Regions from separate parts of the Homo sapiens genome. Here region 2 is linked to region 1. The links are contacts of gene promoters, found by promoter capture Hi-C in human tissues and cell types (Jung and others, 2019). All regions are on one chromosome and are shown on one strand. The core of a region is centred on a gene start or on the middle of the fragment in contact, and the rest is flanking DNA. Distances in the headings are between cores, read along the strand shown. Region 1 holds the start of ODF2 (outer dense fiber of sperm tails 2). Region 2 overlaps ZER1 (zyg-11 related cell cycle regulator).

Evidence for each region. Contacts are between HindIII fragments. The study calls those that stand out against the background at their distance.
Region 2: a contact is called between a fragment that was not itself captured here and the fragment with the promoter of ODF2 in region 1, in 1 of the 25 tissues and cell types used here (dorsolateral prefrontal cortex).

Annotation. Positions count from the first base shown.
Region 1 is chr9:128,453,985-128,459,459 of GRCh38, reverse strand. ODF2 (outer dense fiber of sperm tails 2) reads right to left here and starts at 3,454. Exons shown (of 21, transcript NM_001351578.2): 1 at 3,205-3,454. The coding sequence starts at 3,368. RefSeq lists enhancers at 2,173-2,908, 3,502-3,551, 2,909-3,644, 3,682-3,771, 3,645-4,381 and 1 more and silencers at 2,302-2,351, 2,562-2,711, 2,742-2,841, 2,972-3,281. The HindIII fragment of the contact is 20,941 bases long and covers 1-5,475 here.
Region 2 is chr9:128,728,010-128,733,484 of GRCh38, reverse strand. ZER1 (zyg-11 related cell cycle regulator) reads left to right here. Exons shown (of 16, transcript NM_006336.4): 15 at 1-59; 16 at 2,091-3,699. The coding sequence ends at 2,148. ZDHHC12-DT (ZDHHC12 divergent transcript) reads right to left here. Exons shown (of 2, transcript NR_046240.1): 2 at 242-643. Among named protein-coding and RNA genes, the nearest start is that of ZDHHC12-DT, 6.3 kb to the right of the region's middle. RefSeq lists enhancers at 291-791, 792-1,292, 3,086-3,917, 3,918-4,749. The HindIII fragment of the contact is 3,622 bases long and covers 2,194-5,475 here.

The DNA.
Region 1 (5,475 bases), core at 2,205-4,704:
TAGGAAAACCAGCCTGGAATTCCTTGACTCCCCTGAGATGAGCACCAGATGTGCGTGGTGTGCCCAGCAGTGGGATGGAAATAGGGTGACAGGCATTTGCAGGCTGGACTTTTAACATATCGTCACATCACATGTATTATGACCCTTGCTGAAAAGCCTAGCTGACATCCTGTCAGATGACAAAAAGCAAGCAGCACATGAACAGAAGCCAATGTGCTGGTTTGGCCAAGGGTAGAAGCACCCAGGACAGTGCCTGGAGCAGAGGCGGCCCTGGAGAAAGATGCAGTGAGTGAGTGACAAAAATAGAGCATTAGTGGCCACAAGCCATGTCTCATGCCTGTAATCCCAGCACTTTTGGAGGCCAAGGCAGGCAGATTGCTTGAGCCCAGGAGTTTGAGACCAGCCTGGGCAACATGGCAAGACCCCATCTCTACAAAACATACAAAAATTAGCTTGGCGTGGTGGCGTGTGTCTGTAGTCCCAGCTACTCGGGAGGCTGAGGTGGGAGAATCAATTAAGCCTGGGAGGTGGAGGCTGCAGTGAGCCGTAACCACGCCACTGCACTCCAGCCTAGGTGGCAGAGGGAGACCCCGTTTCAAAACAACAACAAAAAAGAAAAAAAAATTTTTTCAAAGAGCATTAGGCTCAGGCACGAGAGGTCACTGTGACGCACACTCATCAAATTAAGGCTCAAATATTCCCCTAAGAGAATAAAAAAGTATCTAGTTCCCAAAATATTCCACTTGCTATCCTTTAAGCTCTCAAGCAGCAGGGGATTTTTTTTTAATGCCATGTCTAATTCACCTTGCTTACACATATACTGTACAGCTCCATCACCAGATCTGCAAAGACAGCCAAATAAAAAAAAAAAAAAGAGAGAGAGCAAAAGTCTATTTGCTCCAAAATCTTTCAGCAGTATATCCAAAAAGTCCAGGATGGGAAGGGCCTTGGAATAACCATCTGATCCATCTCCTGGCCTTTTTTTTTTTTTTTTTTTTGAGATAGAGTCTCGCTCTGTCGCCCAGGCTGGAGTGCAGTGGCCCAATCTTGGCTTACTGCAACCTCTGCCTCCTGGCTTCAAGCAATTCTCCAATTCTCCTGCCCCAGGCTCCTGAGTAGCTGGGATTACAGGCGTGTGCCACCATGCCCAGCTAATTTTTTATGTTTCTAGTAAAGACGGGGTTTCACCATGTTGGTCAGGCTGGTCTCAAACTCCTGACCTCAGGTGATCCACCCACCTTGGCCTCTCAAAGTGCTAGGATTGCACAGGCATGAGCCACCGCACCTGGCCCCCCAAAGTGGGGGGAGATCAGAGAGGCTGGAGCGACCAGGGGGTGGCAGGGAGGGTGGGGCAGAGACAGGGAGGTCCAAAATTATCATCTTGCCCTCTTTACAAACACTTGGGGAAAATAATGCAACATCAAAATGCAAGGAAAAAAATACTTGAGCACTTTGGTATGCGTTTTGCTGTATATGTATTACATCGTGATTTTAAAAAGAGGGGAAAAAAAAAAAATATATATATATATATAGACCTCTACTGATCCTTTAGCCAAGGAATACCAAAACTGAGAAGACAGGCTTTTTTCCCTAATCATTTAGAACATTGTTCACGTAAAGCCAATAGCTTTGGGAAATCTCTCAGTGGGTTTCTTGTCAAACCACCTGGATTCCATTATCTTGCTAACTGCCACATCCACCTCCTACGTGTTATTTATTTACACCTCGACTCCCTTCAAAAAGGCTCTGAACCTAGTACTCTATTATATAAAGACAACAAGAGTGACCCTGTTTGCTTCCAGGAAGCTGTGACATCTGGGGAGGGAAGGAGCGAGGGAGGTAGAGCTAGGATTGTGTATACATTTCGTTCCCCCTTCCCTTTAAAAACGATTTTTAAACGTTTTGGTCCAGACTTTCAGCAAACACAATGAGGAAGCTGGAAGCCTCAGGCGAGCCTGCCCTGGGGACCCCTGGCCACCTTTCCCTGCCCTCCGGCGCAGGCGCCTCCCACATCGGCAATACCTGGGGGAGCCGCCTGAGGATGAGGCAGACATGGCTAGGCATCAAAGCCGCAAAGGTGGGCAATTGGGTCAGCAGGCTCTGCTCAGGGGGACCCAGAGGGGCAGGCTTGTCAATGAGCCTCTCAAGGGGCCCGGCATCAAACGTCCTCTCTGAGGGGAGAAGGGTGGAAGCTTTGGGGTTGGCAGTTGGATGAAAACTTGGGAGGCGCTCCTCTACTGTCCAAGTCGCACAGCAACTGTCCTGCCAAAGTAGGGGGAAATAGTAGAGGCTGAGCGACCTGGGGGCAGAGGGGAGGAAGGGGAGGGGACGGGGCAGAACCGCGAGGGAAAGGACCACCGCGCCCGGGTCCCACGCGGAGGACTGCCGGTGGCTACCGGGGGAAACCTGAGGCGCCGGCGGACGTGCGGAGAGGGCGGGTGAGAACCGCTCGGCCCCAAGTGGGCCCCAGAGGGCCAGAACCGCGCAGGGAGCCGCGGGGATGCTGGGGCGGGGCCGGACAACTGTCTCCTAGGAGAAGGGGCGTTACGGAAGAACAGATGCCCGAGAGGACCAATAGTGTTTAAAGGAGGGAGGCGCGGAGGTTGCACGGGCCCCGGGCGCCCCGCCGCGAGGGAAAACCGAACAGAGTTCTGAGCAGGATAGACGCCGGGCTGGGAGGGGGCGGGCGGGACCCCCCCCCGCCGGGCGAGGGCCCTGGCAAGCCGGAGACGGTGCCCGGGGGACAGCGCTGCCTACGGAGGGCGTACAAGTGACTGCCATGTGGAGGCCCGAGGAGAGGACGAGGCGGTCGGGGCGATGCCGCCGACGGGCAGCAGAGCGAGGGAGAGCCTCTGTCGGCGGAGAGAAGGGACGGCCACCCACCAGCAGGCAGGAGGGTACCGGTTTCTGCCCATAGAGAGAAAGGTGAAGCCCTGCCCGCGGGCGGCAGAGGAGGGGCAGAGCCCCGTGGTAGCCAAGAGAGGAAGGAGGCGGCCGACCGCCCGTTAGCGGGAGGAGGAGAGGCCCCGCGCCGGTGGGCGGGGCGGGGGCCCAGGTTCTGACAGGAGGGGGACGAGCGCAACGCGGCGGGGAACCCAGGACCCGACGGCCCCGCGGGGTCGACCGCGCCGGGGGTGCGAAGGCGACGGTCTCGCCCGCGGTGCCCCGGAGGGCGCTGGATCCCGCCTGCCGGCGGCCTCTCACCAGGAGCGACACGGCTGCGCCCAGAAACGCCGCCTTATGAAGTCGTTGAAGTCGGAGGCCAGGGTCGTGCCATGGAGACGCCGCGGCGGATGCAGTCTGGCTCTGGCAGCGGCTCCTCCCCGCTTCCGCCTCCTTTTCCGACACCCGGTCGGCAGCTCGCCCATTGGCCAGTTCAAACCCCCCCGGGAGCCGCTTGGGTTTCGCCATCGAGGCCCAGCCCCTAGCGTCACAGAGATGCCCCGCCCCGCCAGAAGGGCCGCCCACTTCCGGGCCACGCGTCCCGTCACCAAGGAGACGTGCTACGCGTCCAGCGGGCCTGGCCGGGTCTCGCCCCCCATTCAAGGCCTTTCCCGCTCGGCCCTGTTTCCCCTGCCTTGGATCCTCCCGGATTCCCCTCACTCAAAGGAGCGTACGGTTCCGACGCCCTCCCCTCGGTACCCACCAGGAAACTAGGCTCACAGAGGACCCATGGAACTAGTTATTGGGAGCTGCACACTGCCTCCGAAAATCCAGCCCTGCCCCTAGTCCACTATTAATGCGGAGATGGAGTCGGCTTCTGCGCATTCCCCGGCCTCTCCCCTGCCCACATCGCCTCTGTCTTGGCCCCAACAGGAGAAAGGGTCGGCATTCCCCTTGCTGTTCTGTTCACTACCTTCCTGCACTTTTTTTTTTTTTTTTTTTTTTTTTTTTTTTTTTTTTTTTGAGACAGATTCTTGCTCTGTTGCCCAGGCTGGAGTGCAGTGGCGCGATCTCGGCTCACCGCAACCTCCGCCTCCCGGGTTCACGCCATTCTCCTGCCTGAGCCTCCCGAGTAACTGGGACTACTGGCGCCCGCCACAACGCCCGGCTAATTTTTTTTTGTATTTTTAGTAGAGACGGGGTTTCACCGTGTTGGGCAGGATAGTCTCCATCTCCTGACCTCATGATCCACCCGCCTCGGCCTTCCAAAGTGCTTGTATTACAGGCTTGAGCCTCCGCGCCCGGTCTACTACCCTCCTGCACTCTCTATGCCGCTCTGTGTACAGACCTATTCTGATGAGGTCCTTGCTGGTCCGCCATCTTCTCAATTATGCTTCACTGTCAGCCAGTCAGGGGAGGTCTGTCACGTGGCTCATAATGCCGCCCTGGAATCTGGGAGACCTGAACCACCTCCGGGCCAACTGGGCCACAGTCCCTTGACCTTTCTCCAGTGACCCCGCAGCACCTTAGCCACACAGCTCCAGGGTCACACAAGTGTTTCACCTGCAATCCTAAAGTCAGACTCGCAAACAAAACCTGCTTTTCCGCCTCGCTTTCACAGTATACTGCATACTGAATTTGTTCTGTAATGTCAGGGAGCTCCCCAATCCCTTGATCCATTCATTGTCTCTCTGTTGAATAATTGATAGATTTCCTAATCCTCATTAACCATTTAAGACTGCGGTGGCTCACGCCTGTAGTCCCAGCACTTTGGGAGGCTGAGGCAGGCGGATCACCTAAGGTCAGAAGTTCAAGACCAGACTGCCCAACATAGCGAAACCCCGTCTCTACTAAAAATACAAAAATTAACCGGGCATGGTGGTGTGTGCCTGTAATCCCAGCTACTAGGGAGGAGGAGGCAGGGAGAATTCCTTGAACCTGGAAGGCGGAGGTTGCAGTGAGCCAAAATCACCACTACACTTCAGCCTGGGTGACAGAGTGAGACTCTTGTCTCAAAAAAAAAAAAAAAAAAAAAAAAGTATATACAGGTTCAAGGAAAAGAGGACAGGAAAAGGAGGTCCCGGTCCTCCTGGGGCAGGCAGGAGATGGTTCCCAGAGGTGATGGTATTGGAACTGAGCCATGAAAGGTGAGTGGAAGTTCGCCAAACAAGCAGCAAAGGGAATTCTAAACAGACTGCAGTAGGTACACAGGTACCACATGCAGGTACAAGAGAATACTGCATATTCTATGAAGCATCATCACTGCAGTCCCTTGAAGTGTTACAGGGCCAGCGATGAGAGAAATCCTGCCAAAGTCAGCAGGACCAGACTATGCAGCGTCTGATAGGCCAGCCTAAGGTGTTGGACTTCATCCCTCAGAAGCCTGGAAAACCATGAGAGGGTTTTCAGTATTTCACTCTAGGCTGGGCGCTGTGGCTCACACCTGTAATCCCAGCACTTTGGGAGGCCGAGGCAGGTTGATCACTTGAGGTCAAGAATTTGAGACCAGCCTGGCCAACGTGGTGAAACCCCGTCTCTACTAAAAGTACAAAAATTAGCTGGGCGTGGCAGCCGGCGACTATAGTCCCAGCT
Region 2 (5,475 bases), core at 2,755-5,254, 270 kb before region 1:
CTTCTGAGGGACATAATTAAGATGGCGACCGCACGGCAGGAGACCAAGGAAATGGCCCGGTAAGAGACCAGCAGTGTGTTTCTGCCTGGAACCTTGGTTTAGGGGAGTAAGGGCATAGCGGGCGCCCTCTGGAGGTTAGGAATGGCTGAAATTCCCAGGGACAGCTTAGAGTTGAGTATGGAGGTTGACAGTGTATTGATGTCCACCTGGGGCCTCTCCAAATGTCATCTCGACCACATTGTGGCTGGAAATTAGATGACCAAGCTCGGAACGGAGCATCAGGGCCCTCGTTTGTAAGCTTAGTTTTCTTTTATTCCCAACAAATTCCATCCTTTTATCACTGGGTATTAGCAAGTCAGGTCAGAACTATTCATTATTTTTGGCCAAAGACATTCCCACTAAAGAAGGGACACAGTGTGGTAAAATACATTCTAGAGATAAGATGAGGCAGAGTGCGAGTGAGTTTGCTGAATGTGAAGATCACAAACATGGTGGAGTCTCGGCCTTCCGTGGCTCTGTGGCTTTCACTGCAGCATCTAAAATGTCACCGCCTCCAGTTCTCGAGTTGATCAGGACACGAGAGACTCTCAGGGATGCGACGTGTCGAAATCGTCGAACGACCTTGTTTTCTCCAGGATTCATTCTAGAAGGGAGAACAGTCAAGCTGACCCGAGCACACTTTTTCATGGCTCTGTATAGAGCAAAAGTTCACATGGAGGAGGGGCCTGAAACTCAGAGGCTCCTCAGCCAGCCACTTCCTGGGCCAGGGGAGGGAAGTGTCAGCTGGTTCTGCTATTATATCTGGCCAAAGGCGCTACTGGCCAGGCGAAGTGGCTCACACCTGTAATCCTAGCACTTTGGGAGGCTGAGGTGGGTGCATCACTTGAGGTCAGGAGTTCGAGACCTGGCTAACATGGTAAAACCCCGTCTCTACTAAAAATACAAAAATTAGCTCGGCGTGGTGGTACGTGCCTGTAATCCCAGCCACTTGGGAGGCTGAGGCAGGAGAATCACTTGAATCCAGGAGGCAGAGGTTGCAGTGAGCCGAGATGGTGCCACTGCACTCCAGCCTGGTCAACAGAGCGAGACTCTGTCTCAAAAAAATAAAATTTAAAAATAAATGGACGGGGCCCACCCCTAGGTTTTCTTTTCCAGTACATCCGGGAGGTGGGAGGTGGCCCTGGAATTTTCATGGTTAACAAGGATTCCCGGGAAATTTGAGAAGCACTGGGTAAGACTGACCAGTTACCTACCACAGTCACTTTGAACATTTCTCCAAGGCCTGTGATGGGAATCTGAGGCACTGGCCTGTCTGACAGCAAGGAGTAAATGACCCTGGACAATGCTTAGGAGAAGGCCCTCGGCCTGTCCACTGACCTCTCTCCCACTCTGGGTATTTGTTTCCTAAAAGGTATTGGGGCATCCCTTTAACACACAGAGGCTGCAGTGAAGCCCCCAAACCACAGGCTTGGTGTTGAATGGGCAAGCTGTCCGGGGTCCAAGGTGACAACCAACAGTGATGGGTGGCAGGGGTCAGGCTGGGGCGGGCGAGACTCGAAATCTGAGCTGGAGTGCTGAGCCCTGGCTGCCACAGGGTAGTGGGGGCCCTTGTGCGAGCACAGCTGCCCCTGCCCGACCCTGGACCTGCCACTGGATCCGGGCCTCTAGGGGAATCTGATGTGCAGTCAGTTTGGGGACCACTGGTGGACTTCTGGAAAGAGAAGGGTCTAGTGTGCAGGGAAAATGAAGAAGAGGTCGCTAAAGAAACTTCCAAAGGGTTTTGGAGGTCGGGCCTGAGCTGATTTGGGGACCCCCTATCCACAGATGCCCTGGGACTGGGGGTGGGAGAAGAGGGGCATGGAAAGGAAGGAAGCGGAGGATGGCTGGTGATGGCATTCACGGCCACAGGTGCCATTCCCTGAGTCCCCTGCACATGCCAGCCACTCTGCCAGCCCCTCTGTCCACATCATTCGGTCAGCATCACCATCACTATGAACACGTGTTTACCCAGCTGCCTAATGATCTCGGAGGGGCTGGGCTCACCCCCACCCAAGCCCACCCTCCAATCCTGTCTCCCCCATTGTCTCCAGCAAGGTGATTGAGCACTGCAGTAACTTTAAAGAGGAGAACATGGACACGTCTAGATAGAGGCCTCCGTCCCCATGGCCGCCACCGCTCTGGACCACAGGCGGGGAGGAAGCATGCTCAAGCAGCCCAGCGGGCGGGCCCCTTCCGAGGGAGCCTCCCACGGAGTGAAGAGACATGGGGGACTTTTGCACAACCGACGCTTTTCCTTAATGTTAGTGAGATATATATATATTATATATATATATTTTTTTTTTGGTTAGGAAGTGTGAAGTTTTGTGTGTATGATTTCTGTGCAAAAACAAAAGCAACACTCCTGAGTCCTTGCAGCTTCCTTGGCCATTCTCAAACCCACTCAGCCTTCATCGCTGACACACACACTCCTACCCCAACCAGACTAAATGCCTATAACGCTGTGAGTGTCCAGTCCTTGTCCAGGAAACTCAGATCCCGGCCTGGCTTCCTTTCATGAGAGGAGCAGGCCTTGGACAGCGTATCGAGCATCCTGACCCACTGCCCCTGCCTGAGAACGCCATCTCGGCTCCCGGGCACAGCTGATGGGGTTTGGGGATTAGAACTTACCCCACTGGGTCTCCCAAAAGCCTTGGTGCTCCCGGCTGTGGGCCATCTGGGGCAGGAAAGTGAGCCATTCCTAGGCTGAGGTCCAGGCAGCCCTGCCCCTGAAGACCCTCTAGGAGCAGGGCACCCAGTGGCCCTGCTGCTGTCCAGCCAGGCCTGCCTGAGGCCACGCTGCTATGGAGGCTGCCTCCTAGTCTCCCACCAGGTCCCAGGCTGTGGAAAGCCCCAGCCCAGGGATGGTCAGAACTCAGGGGCAGATTCCACTGCCCCTTCTGCCAAACACATCCAGAACCTGCCCTCAGCCCTGGAAGCTAGCATCTTCTGGGGCCAGGGGCTTGCTTCCTCGCTCCATAGCCCTCAACTGCCCAGGCGCTCCCACCAGCAGAACTGAGCCTGCCTCCTCCTCCCAGCCTGCCCCGCTGCCCAGAGGACCCCACGCCTCTCAGAGGCAGAGGTCCCATGACAGCCTTTGACCCACAACGGCCACACAGCCGCCTCCAGACCAGCACTCGGACTGCCCTGCAGTGGCCGCTTGGGCCTCCCTGGCGGTCCCGCCCTGCCCTAGGCTTTACCTTGGAAGCCTGAGAGGCGCCGGCTCTCTTGCTCCTCCATCGATGGACACTGCATTGCTTCTCATCGGACACTTGTGGAGCGCAGGGGCCTGGGGAGCAGCGCTAACCCTGGAGGCAGCCTTTGGGTGATGGCTTTTTCTTCCCTTTTCCTCCCGCGGGCCTGTTTTCAGGTGTTCCTAGCATTTCTGCCTCCAGGCAGGACGGCAGGGGTGAGCAGCTTTGGGAGAGACACCTGGCCTTTTTCTCCTGGAGCCTCTCCCTCCCGGCCCTGGGAAGTGGGCGCAGCCCTGTGTTCCCCCAGCTTGGCAGATGGGCTGCATGCGGCGCTCCCTTCCTTCCCACGCTCAGCGGCCCCGGCCAGACCCTGGCAGACTTCACACCTCATTGCTTTACCCCCTGGGGCCTGGGGAAATGTCTGTACTTTGGGAAGTCACAGAAATACATTTTTGTGCAAAATGGAAAACAGAGCGTCTTTTTTTGTGGAGGGGATTGCTAGCCTGGCTTCCAGGCTCTGGAGCAGGGCTTGAGCCACCCCTGGCAGGGGGGCTGCAGTGTAGGTAGTTCTGTGGTAGGGAGGGGTGCGTTTGGTGGGTTAAAGGGCTGCAGGCTGGGGACAGGTGGCAGGGGACTGAGCTGGAGTACCTGTTTCCTATGTGTTCTCTTCACATCCCTGTGCCCACTGAGGACACAGCTGGCAACCAGACCAACAGGGTGCCTGCCTAAGATGGCTCAGCCTGATGGGGGAGACAGATGGCAAATAGAAGATTACAACTCTGTGCCACCATCAGGGAGAAGGCAGCGGAGGAGGTGCCTCCTGCCAGTGGATGGGAGTGGGCAGGCGGATCAGGGAAGCTTGGAGTCCGCTGGGCCACAGTGCTTTGGGGAGAGGGGGAGGAGCCAGCACGATGTCCCCATGTGTCTGGGAGGCTTCTTACAAGAGGACAGAGTGGAGCCAAACCCAGGGAAAAGAAGGAGGTTGCCCAGGCCTGGCCCGAGGGGCTGAGGAAAAGTGCATCCTCAGCAGAGGGTCCCGCCAGGGTGGACAGAGAAGCAGCCCCATGTGGCCCTGGCAGCGTGAGGAACAAGGGTAGAGTGGGAGGGGACCAGGAAGTCGCTGGTGCCAAATTGTGAGGTGCCCAGACTCTAGCATGGCCCAGGGCCGTCCTGGCTGACACCTGTGGTCCCCGCACGTCTATCAACAGTGCCTTGTCATCCTTAAGAGCTGCCTGGTTGGAATAAGAAATGATATGGTGGGCTGGGTGCGGTGGCTCACGCCTGTAATCCCAGCACTTTGGGAGGCCGAGGTGGATCACGAGGTCAGGCGATCAAGACCATCCTGGCTAACATGGTGAAACCCCGTCTCTACTAAAAGATACAAAAAAATTAGCTGCGCTAGGCGGCCGGCACCGGTAGTCCTAGCTACTTGAGAGGCTGAGACAGGAGAATGGTGTGAACCCAGGAGGCAGAGCTTGCAGTGAGCACAGATGGTGCCACTGCACTCCAGCCTGGGTGACAGAGCGAGACTCCGTCTCAAAAAACAAAAAAGAAATGATACGGTCACACCCTTTATAGGCCACCGTGAGTGTGTGGATTTTACCCTTTATGTGAGGTTTTAAGCCTGGGCATCAGGACCCAATTAAGCATTTCTGGAAGCTGAGCACTGACTCCTCCCACAGCCTCTGTGAAGCCGAGGTCCCCTCTTCTCCACCCCCTGCAGGGCCTGGACCTGGCCTCTCTCTCCCCTGGCTGACAGCCCCCTGCCACTGGCCACCCACAGGACCTGGGCAGGAAGGGCATCAAGTGGTTTGCCTCAGAACCCTGGTGGGTCGTCTGTGCCTCGGAGGGAATGAGGGCAGTGCCTGCCAGCAGCAGCCAACACTGCTGAACCTTATTCTGTGTCCCAGGCCCCGGGCTAAGTGCTTCATGTACCTTCCGCTTCCTCAGAACCCTGGCAATAATCCATTTCACAGACAAGGACACTGAGGCTCAGAGAGGTGAAGTGACTTTACTTTTTATTTTTTTCAGACAAGGTCTCACTGTTGCCCAGGCTGAGTGCAATGGCACGATCACAGCTCATTGCAGCTTCGACCTCCTGGGCTCAAGCAATCCTTGCACCTCAGCCTCCCAAGTAGCTGGGACAACAAACGTGCACCTCCATGCACATCTAATTTTTGTTTTTTTGTAGAAATGGGGTCTCACTGTGTTGCCCAGGTTGGTCTCAAATTCCTGGGCTCAAGCA